Linked DNA regions of Homo sapiens: region 2 is linked to region 1. The links are contacts of gene promoters, found by promoter capture Hi-C in blood cells and fetal thymus (Javierre and others, 2016). All regions are on one chromosome and are shown on one strand. Each heading gives the region's core, a stretch centred on a gene start or on the middle of the fragment in contact. The rest is flanking DNA. Distances are from core to core; before and after follow the strand shown. Region 1 holds the start of UNC119B (unc-119 lipid binding chaperone B). Region 2 overlaps RNF10 (ring finger protein 10).

The links. The method cuts DNA at HindIII sites, captures the fragments that hold promoters and counts their contacts. A CHiCAGO score of 5 or more calls a contact.
Region 2: a contact is called between a fragment that was not itself captured here and the fragment with the promoter of UNC119B in region 1, in 7 of 17 cell types (M1 macrophages, naive CD8 T cells, M2 macrophages and 4 more). The highest score is 8.5, in M1 macrophages.

What each region holds. Positions count from the first base shown.
Region 1 is chr12:120,708,263-120,712,989 of GRCh38, reverse strand. UNC119B (unc-119 lipid binding chaperone B) reads right to left here and starts at 2,532. Exons shown (of 5, transcript NM_001080533.3): 1 at 2,272-2,532. The coding sequence starts at 2,515. It overlaps LOC124903036 (a long non-coding RNA gene), which reads left to right and starts at 2,484. Exons shown (of 2, transcript XR_007063491.1): 1 at 2,484-2,553; 2 at 2,716-3,057. RefSeq lists silencers at 2,223-2,492, 2,583-2,642 and an enhancer at 1,773-2,615. The HindIII fragment of the contact is 2,396 bases long and covers 1,539-3,934 here.
Region 2 is chr12:120,570,698-120,575,800 of GRCh38, reverse strand. It overlaps RNF10 (ring finger protein 10), which reads right to left. Exons shown (of 17, transcript NM_014868.5): 14 at 4,510-4,610; 15 at 113-170; 16 at 1-9. Among named protein-coding and RNA genes, the nearest start is that of POP5, 8.2 kb to the left of the region's middle. The HindIII fragment of the contact is 8,105 bases long and covers 1-5,103 here.

The sequences.
Region 1 (4,727 bases), core at 1,283-3,782:
TCATCATCTATCAAGTTGGATGTCAGAACAGGGCGAACTTTTTATAGAATTCCAATCTAAGACATTTAAACTGACTTAGCAGATAATACAGTGCTAGTTTGCCAACGTTAGTTTGCCAACTGTCAGTGTAAGAAAGCCGAGATCAGCAAACTTTTCTGTAGAGCCAGATTCTAAATAATTTAGGCTTTGCCGCCACATGGTCTCTGTCACAACTACTCAACTCTATCATTGTAGCCACAAAAGCATCCACAGACAATACGCAAATGAATGAATGTGGCTATATTCCAGTAAAACTGTATTTATGGACACTGAAATATGAATTTTACATAACCACGTGTCTCAAGATTTTAAAGTTTTTTTCAACCATTTAAAAATGTACAAACCTAATCTTAGTTTGTGGGCTACACAAAATCATACAGTAGACAATACATATCATACATATCCAGGCAAGAGGATAAATCTGCCGGTGAAGACATTAGGCCCAAGTGACTAGAACATGAGCCGCAAATTGAAATAATTCTAATCACAGCAAATTTCACTGATTTCTTTCTAGGATGATTCCGGATAGCATCTTCTCCACAGCTCATTTTGATACTTGATCTTTTATTGCCTGAGTTAGTTGTTTTCGTGTTTTACAAGTTGTCTCTTTATTAAGACGACAAACTTGACAACTACTGATTATTCTGTAACTGCTAAAAAGGCTAACATTGGCTTTGGACTCTTAGAGGGTACTCAAATAATCTGCTGGATAGAATGAACGAGACGTTAAGAAGAGTAACAAAGAGGTTGCCAGACTCTAAGAAGCTGCAGAGGTGGGTTTGGACAATGAGCAACAATCCCAAGCCCCCAGATAGGATCTGAGTGCCCACTGAGAATCCTGCTTAGGGCCAGGCACAGAATACCCTAACTCACTTGGATGGCAGGAGAGGGCATGAGGTTACCAAGACCAGGTGCTGAGCATCTGTACTTTCAGAGCCCCAAATGAAAACTGGTTCAGAAGAAAAGAAGCTTTTTCACACTGTTTCAATAAAACTAACAAGAATGTCTAAAGATACGTTCAGGTCTGGTAAGGACAGTCTCAACCCAAACAGTATTGGGAAACGGGGGCATCCAAATATCTAGAATCAAATTAAAACTCTTTTAGGAAATGGGAATTCCCTTTCGCACAGGGTGGACCAAGGCCTACTCCCCCCAAATTTCCATCCCCAAATTACTAGAGCTGCAATCGGCAACCTGAGGTGCACCTGAACAGCCCTGGGCTGCCTGCTATAGCAGCTCAGCAGACACCATGGCAGCCTTCGATCCATCCAGGGAATGTTGCTGCTGCCACAGGGTTAGGAGACTGCACGCCAGGAGTGATGGGCAGGCCAAGATAGGCCTAACTAGGTGAGTGCACACTCCTGCAGGGAAAACAGCAGCAAGAGAAAAGACGTCAAGTCAGGGACTGGCTTGGCAGAGAACAGAAAAAGGGAGATCACCCAGGGCAGGGACTGGGCAACATTTTTCTTCCCACCCATCCTCCTATCAACGAAAAAGCTTAGGATGGTTGCCTTTTGTGCAGGAAACGCATTTCTGAAACTCTGAAATCATTCTTAATTCACGAGAATGTCAAAAGCAGGATTCACATGTCGGAGTCTGTACACAAACTGAAACTTTATTTTTGTTTTAATGTGGCACAGTTTTAAATGAGCAGGAAATGCCACGGCTATGTGTTTTGAGGAAGAACCCATCTGCACACTAAGGGGCAACGCTCCCGACCCAAAGAGGGAGGGAGGCCGGGCAGGCTGCAATGGGGGAGGGCTGCCATGGGGCCAGGGCGGAGGAAGCAGGTAAGGCTTCTGGCCTGCCAGAGGGCTGGGGGAGCCTGGCTGAGCGGGAACTTCACTGATGGCCGGGGGTTCCAGGCTGAGGGCCCAGGGGCCCATTTATTAGGGGACCTCGGCCCCCGGCCGGCTCAGGAGGATCCAGTTCAGCTGAACGGGGCCCTCTACCCAAACAGGTCCGGCAGAGCTGGGGAGCCGACCGGCCGAAGGGCATCCTAGCGTGGCCGGACTCACAGGAATGCGGTCCAGCCCAGGAGAGTCCTTCCCCACCAGAGCTACGTGAGCGTGGCGGGAGCAAAGCCCGGCCGGCGGGGCAGCGGGAAGCGCGGCCCGGCCGGCCGAGGGGGTCTGGCGGGGACCCCCGCGCTGGTCAAGTGGCCGGGTCCGCTGAAGGCTCCGGGAGCCGGGGCACGGCGCGAGGGGAGGGCGCGGCCCGCGCGGCACTCACTCTCGGTGACCCGGCTGAGGCGCAGGACGTGCTCGGGCCGGATGGTGTCCAGCGCCAGCAGCTCCTGCTCCGTGACCGCTGCCCCGACGCCGTCGTCGGCCGCGTGGTGGGGCGCCTGCCGCCGCGCCTTCAGGCGGTTCAGGACGCCGCCGCCCGCCTTCTTCTTCTCCTCCTTGCCAGCCACCAGCCCCCCGGGCCCAGCCGCCGACGCCGCGGCCGCAGCCTTCGGGTTAGACCCGCTCATCGCTCCGCCGCCAAGATGGCCGCCGCCTCCACAGCGCGGTAACTATGGAGAGCGGGGGCGGGGCCCGGGGCCCGGCGGGGAAGGGGCGGGGAGGGGGCGGGGCGGGGGCGGGGGCGGGCGCCCGGGGGGCTGTGGAATTCCCTTTCGCACAGGGTGGACCAAGGCCCACTCTCCCCAAACTTCCATCCCCAAATAACTAGAGCTGCCATCAGCAACCTGAGGTGCACATGAGCAGCCCTGGGCTGACTCCTATAGCAATTCAGCGGACGACACCATGGCAGCCTTCGATCCATTCAGGGAATGCTGCTGCTGCCACAGGGTTAGGAGACCGCAGGCCAGGAGTGATGGGCAGGCCAAGATAGGCCTAACTGGGTGACTGCACACTCCTGCGGGGCCCGGGGGGCGGTGCTTCGGCTACTGCCCCAACTTTGGTCCTGCCAGGTGGAGGGCCTAGGGGTGGCTGGAGCTTCAGCAACCCCACTCCCCATCAGACCCCCAAGATCCTCCACGATGTTTAAATACATATCTTACGGTCAAATGAATTTACGTCATATAAACTTTCCTCCTCCTCATCCTCCTCCTGGTCTGAAAGAGCACACAGAATCTTCCGTGCACCATCTCGGCATTCTCAATCCAAGAGTTCTGTCACCAGTCCCAACAGCACAATGGCAACTAATTCCCAGTAATCACACCAAGAAGAAGAATGGCCAGTGTTTACTGCGCACTTGCTATATGGCAGGACACTTGCTATAGGGCAGGCTCCTCACCTCACAACAACCCTGTGAGGTATTACTGTCTCCATTTTACAGATCAGGAAGCTCAAGTTCAGAGAAGTCAGGTAACATGTCCAAAGTCCCTCAAGCAGTAAGAGGAGGGAACAGGGATTTTAATCCAGGTCCATCTGACCCAAGGCCTGTTCTTCAACACTAAGCTATTAGTGGACAATGCATCTTGAGAAAATGTTTATTAATATATTTAGCATAGAAGGTAAGTTAAAGCAGTGTTTGTTTTGCAAAGGCAGTTTCAAGACAAACTTTCCAATGAGATTGCCATCCGTAAGCCCTACTGTGCCAGGCCCTGGGCTAGACATTGGGCTAGGCTACAGGAGATGTAAGAGTGAGGGCAGGGATTGGGTCTGCCTCACCCCTGAATTCCCAGCAGTTCAGCTAATGCCTGACACGTGGTAGGTGCTCAGTAATGATTGAATGAGAGCCTGAACAGTATCCCACTATGGAAGAGCTCCCACTTTTGTTAGAGAAGACTGTAAAGTACACAATTCATTATGTGACCCTTCCTTTTCACAAGGTAGGTTAGTATGAACTGGAAGACAAACTAGATTCACTGACTGCACTAAGAGATGCAGCAAAGGTGCTAGGAGAACACACAGGAGTGGTTTATTCTGACCTGGCTGTAAAAGCTTGAGGGCTTCGGAAGTTTTCAGAGGCAATATCTGCACTGAGCTTTGGAAGTTAGCCATGACCTCACCAATTAGCCAGAAGTGGGTCAACAGGGGGATGTGGTCTACCGTCTTCCACCCTGAGGGGCTCCTTCTCTAGGGATTCTAGATCTGCACTGTTCTGTGTTGGAGGCCTGGGCCTGATTGATGCAGTGTGTCTGCTAGGTCTGACATCACCTCTCAGCCAGGCTAGAGTAAAATTGCAACCGTCCCCCAGAGCCTCTTGACGTTCTTGCCAGGCCTTGCTTGCTGAGTCCCTCTCACCAAAGCCACCAAGACAGGCATCTCTTGGTTCCTGGACAAAGTCCAAACCTGACCCCACCCCAGCTGCCCAATTGGGTGGCATAGTGTGTGGCCAAATTCCTACCCAAATGCTGTACTGTCTTTGAGAGATTAGTATATGGTGGCATTTAACTAACTGTTCAGGGAGATTTTAATAAATGTGTACAAAGAATTAAAGTCTTTCCTTTTACAAACAACTCTTTTTAAACCACTCAACAGAGTGGTTACTGAAGAATTTCCAGAACTTTTAATATGCTACTTGATTGTGAATGGCCAAGAGGGTGGTTTAGCATGTGGTCATTTCCCATATACTTATTTACGGAAGGTTTGTTCTCATAGCACCAAGACTAGTTACCTGGACCATGGCTTTTCTCTTTCTAGGGATGATGGCAAATGTAACCTCTTCACCTGCAATTCCACATCTAGGAATTTACCCTACCTGCATGCACAGAGATTTGTAATATTGACAAATTA
Region 2 (5,103 bases), core at 1-2,500, 140 kb after region 1:
TGTTCTCATCTAAAAAATACCAGTGTTAAAACTATAGAAACAACTCTTTTTCTAGAAACAGCCTTTTATGGAAAGAAGCCAAACTCCCCCTTCACCAGTGGACCATCCTCACCTTTCTTTGGAGCAGTTTTGGGCCACACATCTGCTTTTGCTTTTCCAACCCTCAGCATCTGCCAAAGTGGGAAAGAAGTGGGGGAGAGAATTTAAGTAGCTGGTCCAACTTCTTTTTCAGACCTACCTTGACTAACTGGAGAGGCACAGAACCAACTATCACCTTTGAAAAGATTTTCCAGGTACTTCTCTCCTTAACACACTGTTCTAGTCATGTCCTCTATATCCTGGCTAATGGAAATGGCAATGAAACCCACAAGGTAGTAAACCATAAGCTGTTTGTTCCTTAGGAAATGGGTAAAGAACACTGCACAGAAGGCACAAGAGATTCTTACTGAGACCCTCAAATTGGGAATTCCGACTTTCTGGTTAAGTTTTTCTGCCCTTCCTGGGACCCCTAAAAACATCGAGCTGTCGGAGGAAGCAGTGAGTAGTACCCTCCAGTTTTTGTTTTTTAGACAGTTTAGCTCTTGTTGCCCAGGCTGGCGTGCAATGGCACAATATTGGCTCACTGTGACCTGTGCCTCCCAGGTTCAAGCAATTCTGTCTCAGCCTCCCAAGTAGCTGGGATTACAGGCACCCGCCTGGCTAATTTTTGGATTTTTTTTTTTTTAGTAGAGACGGGGTTTCACCATGTTGGCCAGGCTGGTCCTGAACTCTTGACCTCAGTTAATCCCTCACCTTGGCCTCCCAAAGTGCTGGGATTATAGGCGTGAGCCACTGTGCCCGGCCTAGTACCCTCCAGTTTTTTTTGTTTTGTTCGAGATGGAGTTTCGCTCTTGTTGCCCAGGCTGGAGTGCAATGGCGCAAATCTTGGCTTACCGCAACCTCTGCCTCCCAGCTTCAAGTGATTCTCCTGCCTCATCCTCCTGAGTAGCTGGGATTATAGGCATGCACCACCACGCCCGGCTAATTTTTGTATTTTTAGTAAAGACGGGGTTTCTCCATGTTGGTCAGGCTGGTCTCGAACTCCTGACCTCAGGTGATCTGCCCGCCTTGGCCTCCCAAAGTGCTGGGATTACAGGCATGAGACACCGTGCCCAGCCAAGTACCCTCCAGTTTTAAACCACATGGCTACTAAACTTCAGTTACCTAAAGCCATGAAAACTAACTAAACTCTCTCCTGACACCGCTTCAACAGCCCCTCACTACCTTTTAGTCTGCTTTTCCAATAGCTCCTTCATCATTAACTTTCAGATCCAACCACAGGCCAGTAAAATTCCTGCAAGGACAATAAAATCAGAACAATCCTCATGCCCCTGAGGAATTTTCATTCCACTTGGCCAAGGCCAGCTTTGTAACTGCTGAAGGCCACTATGAGCCCCAACTGCAAATATGCCACTTAAAAGGCAGAGAACATTTTATTCCTGGAAAAATATCAAGAGACAAACCCCATGGGGTTCAAGCAGGGATGCCTTGTCCTTAAATCATATATTCCAAAGTGAGGAATGCCTATTACTCAAGATGAGTTTGTGTTGGCAGATGCCGATTTCATTAAATAACCTTTCTTCATTATGTTCCACTTTGGTGAACTTCTCCCTTTGTCTCTAGGAGTTTGGGTCTCCTACGGTTTAGACATTTGACCCTCCCAAGCCTCATGTTAAAATCTGATCCCCAATGCTGGAAGTGGGGACCTAATGGGAGATGTATGGGTCATGGGGGTGGACCCCTCATGAACAGATTAATGCCCTCCCTGGGGGATGGGAGACCTATTCTCGCATTCATTCCTGAAAGAGCTGATGAGTGATGTCTGCCACTGGATCCCAGTGGGAATGGCAGTACATGTGTGTTTGACAACCCTGGGCACTCCAGCCTCTGCCCTTACCACAGAAGGGATCTGAAGTAGCTGGTGTGTCCAGTTTCACAAAGGCTGCTTCAATAGCTTGGCTGAAGGCTATTTTGAAACTGGGCACAGGAACACGGTTGTTTAAAACGGCCTGGCACCTCCTCCCCTCCTTGCTTCCTCTTTAGCCATGTGATCTCTTCACAAGCAGGGACCCCTTCACTTCGTGTACCATGAGTGGAAGCAGCCTGAGGCACTCACCAGATGCCCAGTCCTCCAGCCAGCAGAGTCATGAGCCAAATAAACTTTTTTTTTTTTTTTGATAAATGACTCGGCGTCGGGTAATCTTTTATACCCACACAAATGGACTGAGACAGTATCCAAATAGTTTGACATGTGAATTGTTTTACTCTTAAAAGGTAATCAAAATGTCACCTATGTCTTATTCTTACCAAAATGTTTAAATGTAACCTGAATCCATTCATGAGAAATCAAACAAGTCCAAACTGTAGGATATTCTATAAAACAACTGGCCATGGAAGGGAAAAAAAAGGGGATATGGGCAAAGGAACGGTTATAGATCAAAGGAGACTAAAGAGACTTGACAACTAAATGCAGGGAGTAACAGGATTCTGCCCTGAGTTGAAAATGAAGGACGCTGAGACAAATGTGGAGATATAAATATGCACCATATTAGATATTACTGTGGCAGTGGAATTTCTCTAATGTGATCACTGTGGTTCTATAGGCGAATATCCCACTTTCTTTGGCATGTATCTCCTAAGTACTTAGCGGTAAAGTATCATTCAGGATATCTGCAACTTCTTTTCAACACAGAAAAAAGAGAAAGCAAATATATAACAGCAAAATAGTAACAATTAGTGAATCTAGGTCAAAAGTTTAAGTGTTCATAATACTATTCTTTCAACTCTGTATTTCAAAATAAAGTTCAAAGGAAAAAAGCAATAGCAATAAAGCCTAGTTTAAAAAAAAAAAAAAAAAAAAAGGCCAGGCGCAGTGGTTCATGTCTGTAATCCCAGCACTTTGGGAGGCTGAGGCAGGTGGATCGCCTGAGGTCAAGAGTTCTAGACCAGCCTGGCCAACATGGTAAAACCCTGTCTCTACTAAAAATACAAAAATTAGCCGGGCATGGTGGTAGGCGCCTGTAACCCAACCCCAGCTACCCGGGAGGCTGAGGCAGGAGAATTGCTTGAACCCGGGAGGCGGTGGTTGCAGTGAGCCGAGATCACGCCATTGCACTCCAGCCTTGGGGACAGGAGCAAGACTTCAACTCAAAACAAAACAAAACAAAACAAAACAAGTATTTGGCATAACTCCTGGGAGCCACTTGTTAATCATCTCTAAGTCCAGCAGTTAATTTTCAGGATCCCCCTCTCTTCTCACCTCACCTCCACAATTATTTCATGTTCCTTGACTTCGGAACCCTCCTTACCAAAGCTCAATTCTTGCTTATTTCTCAGTACAAACTGCTGTAATTACATAAGAAAGATCCGTATCAACTGCTCTAAAGAACTGTCAATGGCCGGGCATGGTGGCTCATGCCTGTAATCCCAGCTCTTTGGGAGGCTGAGGCAGGCGGATCACGAGGTCAGGAGATTGAGACCCTACTGGCTAATACGGTGAAACCCTGTCTCTACTAAAAATACAAAAAATTAGCCGGGCGTGGTGGCAGGCGCCTATAGTCCCAGCTACTCGGGAGGCTGAGGCAGGAGAATGGCGTGAACCCGGGAGGCGGAGCTTACAGCAAGCCAAGATCGCGCCACGGAACTCCAGCCTGGGGGACAGGGAGACTCCGTCTTGGAGAAGAGGAAAAAAAAAAAAAAACTGTCAAGATAATGATTCTGCACTAGCCTCAAAGAAGTTTATACGGACTTCTTACAAGGGCACATGTCAAGCTGTCCATCCATCTTCCTCACTTATCTGAATGCAGGAATGCTGAGTATTAGCTTGTTATCTTAGAGATTAACAAAGTGGTTTCACAGCAAGCCTCACTAGCCTATCGTTCCCCCACCCAGCTCCAAGGAAGCTGCTTTGGCTAGGTGCAGTATAACCAAGACAATCTTCCCCTCTCAAAGTGAAGAGAAATGGCTCATTTTATGTAACAGATAAATACCACCTGAATCAGAGGTCCTAGAACCAGAGACCAGTTAAAACTGATGCTGTATCCCCAGCCCCTACAATAGTATCCAGTACACAAGTTATCAAATGATTTTTAAAATATTCTAAACTCTGATTCTGCCTCAGCTATTCTTGGCCTCTTTCCTGGGTACGTCTACAGTAACATCTGAGGACTAAATCCATGAGCTTTCCTCTTAAGAATGCCTCCCATGATTATTAGAGTCAGTGCAACATTAGCCTGTTAAGTCTCTCCTTTTCCAACAGAGCGGACGTCCATGACATAATCTGCCCTCAACCAACTCCATGCTGCATAAAGCTCCGACAGGCAGTTAACTTCCCTCCTACCCATCAGATGACTCAATTTGTCCAGCCGTATTAGAATGAGAGGTAACAATCCCTGGAGGAGGTTCCCATAATAATGAGCAGCAGAGTTCATGTTAAATACCCCTGGGCTGCTTCACAAGCAAAGGATTTACCTGGGCAAAGGAAGGGAAGGGAGAGTCTTCTTCCAGACTCCCAACGCAGAATGAGGGACTGCCCTGACTGGCAGTGGGTGACAGAGGGGTCAGCAGAAAGTCTGAAAGGGAACCAGAGACCTGATTATATTCGTCACGTTCCAAGGGGTGTCCTTAACAAGAGAGATGAGTGAGCCCTGAGTCAGGTCTGGAAAATTACAAATCATCCCCTCAAAAAAAAAAAAGCAAACATTGATCCAACTTTCAACTCTTCCATGTTCTTAAAAAGCCAACAATATCACCAGTGAAATCAGCGACCGGTACAGGAAGAGGGAAGAGCTTCATCGTTACAGTAACTCTAGAAGTCATGGTAGAATCTACTCCAACTGTAAGAAAAGTCTTTGCTTTTGAAATGCTATACTTTCCACAAAGGCTGGCTCTCAAGGATAGGTACTGTCAGGGACTGGTTTTACAAGGATGAAATAGCTCCAAGAAAAAGATAAAATTTAATCAGCTCAGCTTTTACATTCCCGATAGTAGACACTATGACCTGGGAGTATCCAATTAGAATCCAAGACACATCAACAAGATCCAGCACAAGGATGCAAACTTTTC